Regions from separate parts of the Homo sapiens genome. Here regions 1, 2 and 4 are each linked to region 3. Evidence: promoter capture Hi-C in 16 types of primary human blood cells and fetal thymus (Javierre and others, 2016). All regions are on one chromosome and are shown on one strand. The core of a region is centred on a gene start or on the middle of the fragment in contact, and the rest is flanking DNA. Distances in the headings are between cores, read along the strand shown.

Region 1 (2,938 bases), core at 39-2,538, 390 kb before region 3:
TCCCCTTGAGCGAGGAAGCCACACTGCCTTTCTGTGTCTGGTTCAGAGCTCTTCCTTCTTGGCATGTTTTCTGGACTACATGCACATGGGCAGCTATAGATTAATCTGCAAAACCTAGTCACTTACCTACCCATAATATCTGGGAAGGTGTGGTATTTGTTTTAAAGAAACATTGTTTCTTTGGGAGGGCAGTTTCTGTCTGGACTTTGAGGTGGACTTAGTTATCCCTACAGTTCTTTAACTCTCAGCTTTTAATAAAAGATGAAATCAGATATTGATGCAGTTGGGTCACAATTCTTTAGAATGCTTCTACCCCAGGGCCGCTTCCTGTTCCTAGTCATGGTTTTCCAGTTTAGTAGTGGAGTTTCTTGAGGCTAACTTACAGAAATTTCTAACTGAAAACTTTAAGAGTTATTGATACTTGTTTTTTCAGTCAGTCACTTACATCACCTAGCCTACTCTCTGGAATTTAAATTTATTTCTCTAGGCTGGTCCTGGAAGTTGATAACCTTTTGGCAAAGCTTAGATTTAGGAGAAGGCTTGAGTCCCTGTTCAGCGGGTCTGTGGATTCTCTTTGCTTATGGCTCTCTGCCTGCAGCCCTGGCAGACCATACTGTATGTCATGGATACCCAGTGGAAATATTACTGAGATGAAACACATTTCCAAGGGTATTTAAACTCTCACTCTGCCACCTTTCTAAGGGTGGGAGGCTGGCAGAGATGCTGCAATGCTTGATAATCATTTGGCCACACTGAAATTTCCAAAGGGAGCTCTTGCCGGTGCTTAAAACCAAAACTCCTGGACACTTAGAAAATTCCATGAATCTAGCACAAAATATCCATTCTTGCCCAAGTGTATCCCCTTTCTCTCCAGCTTAATCTTTTTTTTTTTTTTTTTTTTAAAGCCCAGGCCAAGGGTACTTTTAACTGGAAACTGGGGAGGAGGGAAGAACACTAGCAGGGAGCTAAGAGGCAGGTTGCTGGGTAAGCCATCCTGCTCCTACCTGGTGCCTGTATCTACATTGCTGAGTGCTGTGCGCCAGTGCCTTTCCTTCATCTGCAGATGGAGCCCATCTCTTTCCACCTGGGTGAGGAGACCCTCTGCTACTCCAGGGGTAAACCTTAAAGAAGGTGTCTTGAAGAGCCCAGAGGACACTCACGTGCTAAGGTGTCCATTTTATGCATCTTTAAAATATTTTATTTAAAAAAAAAAATAGCCCTGCCCTGTCTTAGTGCCACTAACGGCCCAGTTCCATCCATTCTGAATGGAAAAGCGGAGACTGCCAGCACTTTCCTTGGTCTTCCCTTTGTCTCCCATGATGTGTTGTTCCCTCATCCCTCCCATCCATTTCACTGTGTGTGGATGGATAGCAGAGGGTACCACGCAGTCCTTGAGGCAGTCCTGTGTGATTCCATGATCAGTTGTTTTTGTATTTTAACTATTCTTCCAAACCAGCAGATGTTTGGAAATTAAGGAAAAAATTAAATTCTCATCAATGGTTGCTGTTATAGTTAAATCAGTAAAGATCTTGAGTATCAACTTGGTGTTTTAATTTTTTAAAAATTTCTGGTGAAATCCTGCTAAGGTTATTTCACATTTCAGGAGTTTCAGCTGGTGGGGGAGATGGGCAGAGGTAAGAGGCAGTTGGCTCTTTATCTGTCAGTTCTCCACACTTGCGGAGCATGCACTTTGTCAATGTGGACCTGTGTATGCAAAGGAGATGGTGGGACTCTCAGGGAGCATGACCCTGGTCCTGTGCTCAGGAGCTTGCAGGTGAACATGTATATGCTGGGCTGACGGCACCCAAGCATGTCCTTCTCTTAAGTGCCAGCCCTGAGGAAGCCCAAACAACTTTTCCTTTCTCAGAAGAGGGGCTGCCTGTGCCCCTGGGAGCACTGGTTAGATGCCCATCATGCCTGTTACCTCAAACCAAGCTGTGCTGCATGAGCGTCAGATTCCCTGCTGTTAACTAATCCAGCGGGTTTCATGTATTAGTCCTGAGAATGAGAATTCTTTCACGTGCACAGAGGTCCACAGAATAAAACTGGACTGGAGGAAGCTTTCCCATCGGAACTGTCTAGGGGTTTAGGGCACAGGCTTTGGAGTCAGGCAGCTTCAGTTCCAGCTGTGCTGCTTAGTAGCCAAATTACCCAGCAGAATTCTTATTCTACAAGCCTCAGTTTTCTCTAAAATAAGGTTAAGAAACAACTTTTCTAGGTGGTTGTCAGGCCCAGTTGATGTCATAAAGAGCCCAGTGCCTAGTATACTCAGCTCAGGAAACAGTATTTAAGGGACTCAAGCACAGCCCGGTTGACATGGACACCCAGAGATTATTCAGCCCCCTCTCCTCTTCCCTCCAAGTGTGTAAGTTTAGGAATGGAACAGGTTTGAGCACTGCAGCTACCACCTACTCATGGAACCTATAGAAGGACTAAAGGATCTCTTTAAGGGAAGATGGGACCAAAACCTTAAAAGCGCTTTCCTACATCCTTTACTCTGCCCTAAAGGCAATTAGGATAGGTAAGGATCTTACTGCTAATGAAGACTTTTTTTTTTTTGAGACTGAATCTTGCTCTGTTGCCCAGGCTGGAGTGCAGTGGTGCGACCTCGGCTCACTGTAACCCCCGCTTCCTGGGTTCAAGTGATTCTCCTGCCTCAGCCTCCTGAGTAGCTGGGATTACAGGCACGTGCTACCATGCCTGGCTAATTTTTATATTTTTAGTAGAGACGGGGTTTCACCACGTTGGTCAGGCTGGTCTCAAACTCCACACCTCGTGATCCGCCCGCCTCAGCCTCCCAAAGTGCTGGGATTACAGGCATGAGCCACCGCGCCGGACCGAAAAGGAAGACTTAAAGACGGAGATAAACCCCAGGTTAGGGGTGCTATCCCAGGGTCACAGCCACTCCCCACATCTCTATGGATCCCGTGTTTCTGTT
Region 2 (3,089 bases), core at 25-2,524, 270 kb before region 3:
ACCCCGGTGAGTTTTGTTTGTGTGTGCAAGCTTGGGAGCCTGACAATTTCTGGCCCGAGGACAGTGGCTGGGGCTGCCATGTGGATGGGGACCCTGTTGGGGTTTGTGCATCCAAGAGACGCCCGCTGACCCAGACCTTGCTTTTCTCGTCCAGGACTTTGACCAGCTGCTGGAGGCCCTGCGGGCCGCCCTCTCCAAGGACCCAGGCACTGGCTTCGTGTTCAGCTGCCTCAGCGGCCAGGGCCGTACCACAACTGCGATGGTGGTGGCTGTCCTGGCCTTCTGGCACATCCAAGTACGTGTGGCCTCTCAAGTGAGATTAGAGATTTGCCTGGAGGAGGGTAGACACTCAGGTCCCAGGCACACTGGCTCCACAGGAGGGTGTGAGGGGCAGAGACAGCCGGGTGTGGTCCCAGAGCCCCTTCCATCAGTCTTGGGCAGCCCCCAAGTCCTCCCCAGCAAGGGGCTCCTGGCGTTGGGAGGGGGCTTCTGTCTCAGCAGCTGTCTTCCCTCAGGGCTTCCCCGAGGTGGGTGAGGAGGAGCTCGTGAGTGTGCCTGATGCCAAGTTCACTAAGGGTGAATTTCAGGTGAGCATGCCCTGCGGGGTCCCTGAGGCACCTTGGGATGGGAGGAGGAGGAGGACTCCTGCTTGCCGGTCTAGGGGTCCTCAAAGCACGTCCCAATGCAGTCACGTCTGCCACCTCATCATATCAGTGCTTCCCTGTTCCCATTTTATAGATGAGCCCAGCAAGGCATGGGACAGCTTGGCTCTGAGGCCCTGGCAGACGGCCGGCTATGGAGATGTGGGCTGGACCCCTCCCTGCCCGGCCTTGCTGTTGGGCTGCTGTGTGCCTTGGGGAGGTCACTGGCCACCGTCTTGTCTGGGTAATGTTGATAACAACCTCCCAGCACCTTCAACCCAGCTGTGGTTGGTGACCTTGTGTGGGTCCCCAGCCTACTTTGCCCTGCCTGTTCCTCTATTTCAGATTAGGGCACTGGATGGCCAGCCACAAACATTCCAGATTTAGTCATCCATGTATTGTGCACCTGCCACATGCCACAGGCCATCTTCTCAGGCATCCCGAGAGTCGTGGCAACGTCCCTCGGAGTTGGCCCATGGCTGACCCACAGTCAGCAGCACAGTTGGCTCGTGTCTTACTGGTTAACTTCGCCACTTGCCCCTCCCCTGCCCTCGCCCCAGTCCTGAGGCCCTGACCGCCATGCAGCACCTCACACTTGCTAAGCTCTTGCAGCCTTTGCATATGCGGTGCCTTCTCCCTTCCTTCTTCTGGCTGATTCTCTGATTCTTTCCTTTTTCCTTTTCTTTATGTGGTAAAATATGCATAACATAAAATGTACCATTTCAACCATTTTTAAATGTACAGTTCAGTGGTGTTAAGTACATTCACGTTGTTGTGCAACTGTTGCCACAACCCATCTAACTCCTTCATCTTGCAAAACAGAACTCTGCTCTCCTATTCAGTAATGATTCCCCATCCTCCCTCCCAGCAGCCCCTGTTCTACTTTCTGTCTCAATGGATGTGACTACTCTAGGAATCTTCTATGAGTGGAATCGTACAGTATTTGTGTTTTATGACTAGTTTATTTCACTGAGCATAATGTTCTCAAGGTTTACCCACATTGTAATATGTGTCAGAATTTCTTTCCTTTTAGAGGCTGAATAATATCCCATTGTATGGATAGACCACATTTTGTTTCTCCATTCCTCCATCAAGGGACACTATTTGCTTCCACCTTTTGGCTGTCATGAGTAATGCTGCTATGAAATGCATAGTGCACGTAGCTGAGTCCCTGCTTTCAGTTCTTTTGGGCATATACTCAGGAGTGGAATTGCTGGATCCTATCGTAATTCTGTTTACTTTTTTGAGGAACCACCATGCTGTTTGCCGCAGTATATGCACCATTTTACATTCCCACCAGCAACACACAAAGGTTCTGATATTTCCACATCCTCACCAACACTTGATTTCTTTTTTCTGTTTTTTTTAGAGATGGGAGTTCACCGTGTTGGCCAGGCTGGTCTCGAACTCCTGACCTCAGATGATCCACCCGCCTCGGCCTCCCAAAGTGCTGGGAGCCACTGTGCCCAGCCGTTTTTTTTTTTTTTTTTTGGATAATAGCCATCCTGCTGGGTATGAAGTGGTATATTGTGGCTTTGATTTGCATTTCTCTAATGATTAGTGATGTTCAATATCTTTTTATGTGTTTATTGGCCACTTGTATATCTTCTTTGGAGAAATGTCTGTTCAAGTCCTTTGTCCATTTTTGAATTGGATTGTTGTTGAGTTTTGGTTCTTTATATATTCTGGAAACTAATCACTTATAAGAGAGGTGATATGTAAATATGTTCTCTATTCTGTGGGCTGACTTTTTACTCATTGATAGTGTCATTTGATGCACAAAAGTTTTTAATTTTGATGTAGTTTGTCTGTTTTTTCTTTTGTTGCCTGTGCCCTTGGTGCTATATCCAAGAAATCATTGCCAACTCCAATGTCATGAAGCTTCTCCCTTGTGTTTTATCCTAAGACTTTTATAGTTTTTAACTCTTAGGTTTAGGTCTTTGATCCATTTTGAGTTAGTTTTTTTTATATGGTGTGAGGTGAGGGTTATCTAAGTTTATTCTTTTGCATGTGGATATCTGGTTTTTCCAGCACCGTTAGTTCAAGAGTCTGTCTTTCCCCATTGAAGGGTCTTGGCACCCTTGTTGAAAGCCAGTTGACCATATGTATAAGGGTTTTATTTTCCAGCTGAGTTTAGTCTTTGCATCGGTGCCTTGAATGTGATGGTCAGGCCTCTCCTTCTTCACACCAGGCCCCGTGCTGGGAGCTGTGTGTACTCCCTCTGTCCCCTTTCCCAGCTCCCAGGAGGTAGGTGCTTTTACTGCTCCCAGTTTATAGATGAGAAAATGAGGCCTGGGGAGACAAGTTTATTACCCTAGGGCCACATCAGAGAGGTGGGGCTGGGGTATAAGCCAGGCTGTAGACCTCAGAGCCTGTGTTCCAAAGTTACATCATATGACCTGAAGACACCCCTGTACACCCTATCCTCACCCACCCCCAGATAATCTA
Region 3 (2,700 bases), core at 26-2,525:
GAGGCCCCAGAACATTTTCTGACCCTCAAACACTGAGAATGCATGTCTGCTGGGGAATAGTAGTGAGGGGGCTAAGGGTATGGGGGTGTTCATGCCTGAGTCAGGGGCTCTGGATGGTAGAAATGTCTGGGAGTTCTGACGGAATGGGGGTGAGGAGGCCTAAAGATAACCTGTTCATAGTCTTTCAGGGCCTTAACCATTATGGCTGGGGAAGTGGGAAGTGCCGATGGGGTATGCAGAGGAGGGCAGCTGTGATAGTACATTTCATCCTGAAAGCACTACATGTGGATAATGACGGTAGTGATGATGCCCTAATTTTAGTGTCATGGCAACATTTTCCAAGGGGATGGAATTGGGTACCCTCATTAGTGTCATTTTTGTTTGAGAGATTTCAAGAGTCTATCTAGGTGTCATTTTAAAATCTATTGAAAAAAAATCTTGAATGCAGGTCACTGACCAGTTGGTTCCATGTAACTGCACTGCCTTCTGCTACCACTAAAGCAATGTTATGACAACCTGGACAAGTCATGGGAAACCTATGTGAGACTTAGTTTTTTCTTTTTCTTTTTGGAGTTGGGGGTCTCACTATGTTGCTCAGGCTGATCTAGAGCTCCTGGGCTCAGACAACCCTCCCGCCTCAGCATCCCCAAGTGCCGGGATTACCGATGTAAGCCACTACACCCAGCTGAGACTTAGTTTTTTCATCTGGAAATGAAGGCGACCTTTGTGATCCCAGTGGGCCCTTGCACTTGTGTATAAGGTGATTCCCAGCACTGCTCATGAAAGTAGTGATGGCAGAGTAGCCTCTGCTCTCCATTTTATTTTTGGGGTGGGGGGGGGCAGTGGTGGAGGGGAGGATGAGGATGATATTTCCATTAAATAAGTTTCCTTGTTGCTTTTCTTCAGGCACCACTGACCTCGATGGAAAAATGAAGTCCCTGGCCCAGGAAAGAGACCCAACTCTGTGGCTGTTTTGGATTAGTTTGTACAATGCCCTGCAGACCTACTCTCTCAGGAGGCTCCAAGTGACCAAATGTGACAAGAAAGTTTTTTGTCCAAGGCAGTTTGGAAGAGAAGTTGGTGACCGTCGGGATACCACAGCCGCCCCAGGACGGCCTGGTTGAGACATTCACTGGAGGGTCTGGGTGCAGCCCGCTGCCTGGCCGGTAGGCGGCGCGCACAGGCCGTGGGGCCCGGGTCTGGGCGTGCGCGCGGCTGGTAGCAGCGGGGCCGCGCACGCCAGGGTCCGGGAGCCGGGCCGGTGCCCCCGGAGCCATTTCCGGGAGGGGCGAGGCCGGCGGCTGCCGGGCCTCCAATCTCGGCGGCGGCGGCGGCAACAGGGGAGCCTGGGTCTCGCGGCCTGCGAGTCCGTCGCGTGCTGAGGGAGACGCAGGAGGTGGAGCCGGCCGGGTGCTCGAGGGAAGGAGACTGGAAGCTGGTTCCGGCGTGAGGAGGTGGAGGGGCCGCCGCGGGCTCCGGGGGGCGGTGAGGGTCGGGACGGAGGCGCCGCGGGGTGAGGAGAGGACAGGGGCCGGGTGGGCCGAGGGCGGGCAGAGGCGGCGGGGCGGCTGCGGCCGGGGCGGGGGCGGGGGCGGGCTGAAGGCGTGGGCACCAGCCGCTGAGGTCCAAGCAAGTGGACGGCGGGCGGGCGCGGGGCCGCGGTGGGGCGGGTCTGGAGCCCACGCCTGCCGCGGGGTAGGCATGGGCGGCCAGGATTTGCTGGTCCTCCGACGGGAGGGGTGACAACGAGAGCGAGGCCGTGCTGATTCTGAAGGGAGTGCGGAGGAGGCAGGACCCTGGTAGCCTCGGCACCTTCAGCCCGGGTTAGGTGGCCTGGGCTGGGCTCCCCACCCCGATCGCGCGCAGACGGGGCGTTTCCCCTAGTTTCCACCTGGGTGGAATGCTTTGTGGGAGTCTGGGTCTGGATTAGTTTCATCAGCTGTGGGAGGGAAACCTAGTTGCAGCAGGATTTTGATTCGCTGGTCTGGGGTGCTAGGGGTGGACTGTGATATCTGGGAATGAAATCTGAGCCTTCAAAGGAGGGAGAGAACCATAACTTGGCTGCTCTGGCGAATCTAGGCGGGCTGGCGAGACAGTTTAAAGCTCTAGAAGTAAACAAACCTGGTTCCCTTTTACAGAGTCTGAAAAAGGGGAGCGCGGAGAGGAGGCTGGAAGAGGAAGATGCCTAGCACAGACCTTCTGATGTTGGTGAGCCTTTTGCAGACATCCTCCTGGTTCCAAGGCATTTGTCTCCGTTTTTTTAGTCCAAAGGATCCCAGTGTGTAGATTTCACCTCTGATGCTTGCTTTTGGTAGCTGAGCGTTTTGCCACCTTTTATTTTGTTTTGTTTTGTTTTGTTTTTTTGGAGACGGAGTCTCACTCTGTTGCCCAGACTGGGGTGCAGTGGCATGATCTCGGCTCACCGCCACCTCTGCCTCCTGGGTTCAAGCGATTCTCCTGCCTCAGCCTCCTGAGTAGCTGGGATTACAGGCGCACGCCACCACGCCCGGCTAATTTTTGTATTTTTAGTAGAGACGGGGTTCTCCATGTTGGCCAGGCTGGCCTTGAACTCCTGACCTGTGGTGATCCACCCGCCTTGGCCTCCCGAAGTGCTGGGATTCCAGGCGTGAGCCACCGCGCCTGGCCAACCACCTTTTATTTTGGATGAATGATCAGGATGAATAAATAGCTGAATTAAAT
Region 4 (2,835 bases), core at 336-2,835, 360 kb before region 3:
GTACGTAATAGATGCTTAATAAATGAGGCTGGAAAGGGTACTTTTCTTGATTGCTGTCAGCAGGAGGAGGCTGAGGCAGAGGAAAAGAGCACTGGACTTGGAGTCGGCGTGCCTGCCTGCCTGCCTCTAGCTTCGCAATCTTGTTTGCAGCGAAGGGGCATAGTGGTCTGTGCGGCGCGGTGCCCAGTCCCGCCCGCCCCGCCGCGCCTGGCCGGGCGCCTGGCACAGCCCAGGCGCTCAGCGGAGGCCCCAGGCATGGCAGGACCTACGGAGCCCGGTGAGGTGAGCGCGCCAGGCCGGCCGGCTGGGCTGGAGGCAGAGGCCCAGGCGCCCGCCCTCGTGGGAAAGCGCGCGGAGGGCGACCCGGGTGAGTCAGCCGAAGAGCAGACGGGCTGCGGAGCAAGAAGACCGAGGCTGGAGGCGGCAGTGAGTGTTCCCGCCGGGCGGGTGGCGTTGTCGCCGCCAAGGGGGACCCGCCCCTCTCCCCTGTTCCCCGCACTGCCGGTCCCGCCGCCGGGGCCGGGACAAGAGCCTAGTGAGACAGAGACGCTCCGGCGCGAGCTCCTGCCCAGGCCCTGTGGTCGGGCGGGGTGGGGGTTACCCAGGGCTCTGCCCTCAGCGGGATGTGTCCCCTCCCATCTGTCCCGTCCCCTCGCTGGGCTTCTGTCCAGTGGCCTCATTCTGTTGCTGCTGGTGGGAAGGGTGGGATGTGCCTGCTTGGTAAATTGTGGGGCGCCACCAAACGCGGGGGGCCCCCATTTGGTGCCAGGCGAGGCCTGGTGCGTGGGCAGGAGAGTCAGGATGGGCCCCGCACACCATCACCGCCTTACCGCGGTGCTGCACTGCTAAACCAAGGGATTACTGCTGTTCCTGGGCTCAGGGAGAGAGCGGCTCCCCCACCTTTATCCCCCGCCATCCGCCCACCCACTGCTTCACCCTTCCCCCATCCCACCCCACCCCACTCCAAGCCCCAGGGAGCCCGGTTTATAAGAGCCACTGCCACCGTTTGTCCATCGCTCACTGGGACGCTGCTTTGTGATAAACATTTTGCACAGTTACCTCAGTTAGCCCTCCCGCTGGCACTATACTGACGGCTCCCTTTTCAGATGAGGAACCGGGGCTCGGAGAGGTGAAGTCACTTCTTCAAGGTCACTGCAGTCAGAGGCGGAGCTGCCCTGAGGCTAATTGAAGCTTAAGTTTCAGACCCTTGCAAGGCCCGGACCTAATTTTTGCATTTGTATTTTTGTGTTCTTTTCCTTTAAAAGCCCCCTCCCGCGACAGTAGGAGGGTCAAGCCCCTTCAAAATGGATCTCTCTGACCGTGCCTGGTCTGTCTGCTGTCCTCTGTGGCACTGCCTCGGATGGGTGGGGATGGGGGGGTTGCTGGGGCTGGGCAGTGCCAACCTGGCATGGAGGGAAGGACGTCCAGATTTGGTCAAGGGGCCCACATGACCTTTGCATGAGTCTTGGCAGACTCCAAACAGCCTGCTGTGCGCGGAGCCAGCTTAGGCAGAGCCCCCGCCTTGTGACGTTGGGATCTTCTCTGGGACTCAGCTGTCCTCATCTGAGTTAGGGGTGGTTATTATGGGGTAACTGCAGACACAAGGTGAAAGTGGAAGGAACAGAGGCTGGAAAGCTCGGAGCCCTGCCTGTCCTCCGTTCCCCCACGTACTCCCCCTCAGCCACCCCATAGGTGAACGCCACTCTGCCCTGTGCCCTCATCTTCACAGCCAGCCCTCTCCCCTCCAGCTGCCGCACCTTCTCCACAGCAGTTGTCCGTGGTGCCTACACTCCCCGCTTCACGGTCACCCTTCACCCGGTTCCATTGTGTGCCTCCTGCCTCCACCCACCATGGCGTCTGCCCTGGCTTGGGTTGTATAGGAGAGACTCCGTGTTACCAAATTGGCTCCAGCCCTGCCTGGCCGCACAGCAGCCTTTGACACGATTGAAATGCTCCCCACCTCTTAGCTTTCGTGCGGCTAAGCTTCCCTTCCGCCGTCTGGGCCCCTGCTCAGTCCTCTTTGTCTTCTGAGCCTCTTCCCCCTGCCCCAGGCCTCCCCTCCCCTCGAAGCCCGCCCTCCAAGGCTGTGCTTCGACTTCTCTTCTCCCCTGCGGTTACTTGCCTCTCCTGGAGGGTCTCACCCATCCTGGGGCTTAAAAGCCACCAATGCCCATGGTGCCCGGCCTTTGTCTACCCCAGACCAGTCCTCAGAACTCTGGACCCCTGCACCCACCGGCCTACCGTGCGTCTCCCGTGGGCTCCCTCACAGTCATCTCCGGCTCCATTCATCAAGACTGAACTCCTCTGCGCCTTCTCCAGCGTTCTGTCTGCAGCCAAGCCCCTGATTCCTGATTCCTTCCTCCCTCAACACCACAACATCCAACCTCATACCAGCCATGTGGATCCCACTTCCAAAATGGCTCTCTAGAATCCACCTGCTCCTCCCCATCTCTTCTGTCACCACCTGGTCCCAGCCACCATCATCTCTCTCCTGGACAACTGTGGAGGCCTCCCTGCCTCCACCCTGGCCCCCCAGAATCCACTCCTCTCAGGAGCTAGATGGGATGGCATCACTCCCCTCACTGAAACCCTTCAGTGCCTCTCATTGCCTGTAGGATGAAATACAAGCTCCAGGCCGGGCCAGGTGGCTCACGCCTGTAATCTCAGCACTTTGGGAGGCCGAGGCGGGCGGATCACCTGAGGTCAAGAGTTCAAGACCAGCCTGGCCAACGTGGAGAACCCCGTCTCTACTAAAAATACAAAAATTAGCCGGGCGTGGTGGCATGCGCCTGTAATCCCAGCTACTTGGGAGGCTGAGGCAGGAGAATCACTTGA

What was found. The method cuts DNA at HindIII sites, captures the fragments that hold promoters and counts their contacts. A CHiCAGO score of 5 or more calls a contact.
Region 1: a contact is called between a fragment that was not itself captured here and the fragment with the promoter of SGPL1 in region 3, in 1 of 17 cell types (M2 macrophages). The highest score is 5.1, in M2 macrophages.
Region 2: a fragment that was not itself captured here is called in contact with the fragment with the promoter of SGPL1 in region 3 in 1 of 17 cell types (naive CD8 T cells); the score reaches 5.5 in naive CD8 T cells.
Region 4: a fragment that was not itself captured here is called in contact with the fragment with the promoter of SGPL1 in region 3 in 2 of 17 cell types (naive CD4 T cells and naive B cells); the score reaches 7.3 in naive CD4 T cells.

The regions. Positions count from the first base shown.
Region 1 is chr10:70,427,079-70,430,016 of GRCh38, forward strand. EIF4EBP2 (eukaryotic translation initiation factor 4E binding protein 2) reads left to right here. Exons shown (of 3, transcript NM_004096.5): 3 at 1-1,540. Among named protein-coding and RNA genes, the nearest start is that of NODAL, 13 kb to the right of the region's middle. The HindIII fragment of the contact is 1,539 bases long and covers 520-2,058 here.
Region 2 is chr10:70,540,948-70,544,036 of GRCh38, forward strand. It overlaps PALD1 (phosphatase domain containing paladin 1), which reads left to right. Exons shown (of 20, transcript NM_014431.3): 16 at 155-295; 17 at 516-587. Among named protein-coding and RNA genes, the nearest start is that of PRF1, 60 kb to the right of the region's middle. RefSeq lists an enhancer at 938-1,438. The HindIII fragment of the contact is 2,492 bases long and covers 29-2,520 here.
Region 3 is chr10:70,814,673-70,817,372 of GRCh38, forward strand. It overlaps SGPL1 (sphingosine-1-phosphate lyase 1), which reads left to right and starts at 1,276. Exons shown (of 15, transcript NM_003901.4): 1 at 1,276-1,454; 2 at 2,139-2,208. The coding sequence starts at 2,182. RefSeq lists silencers at 1,072-1,391, 1,412-1,501, 1,582-1,691. The HindIII fragment of the contact is 12,143 bases long and covers 1-2,700 here.
Region 4 is chr10:70,458,141-70,460,975 of GRCh38, forward strand. It overlaps a transcript of PALD1 not described here. Among named protein-coding and RNA genes, the nearest start is that of NODAL, 18 kb to the left of the region's middle. The HindIII fragment of the contact is 792 bases long and covers 1,190-1,981 here.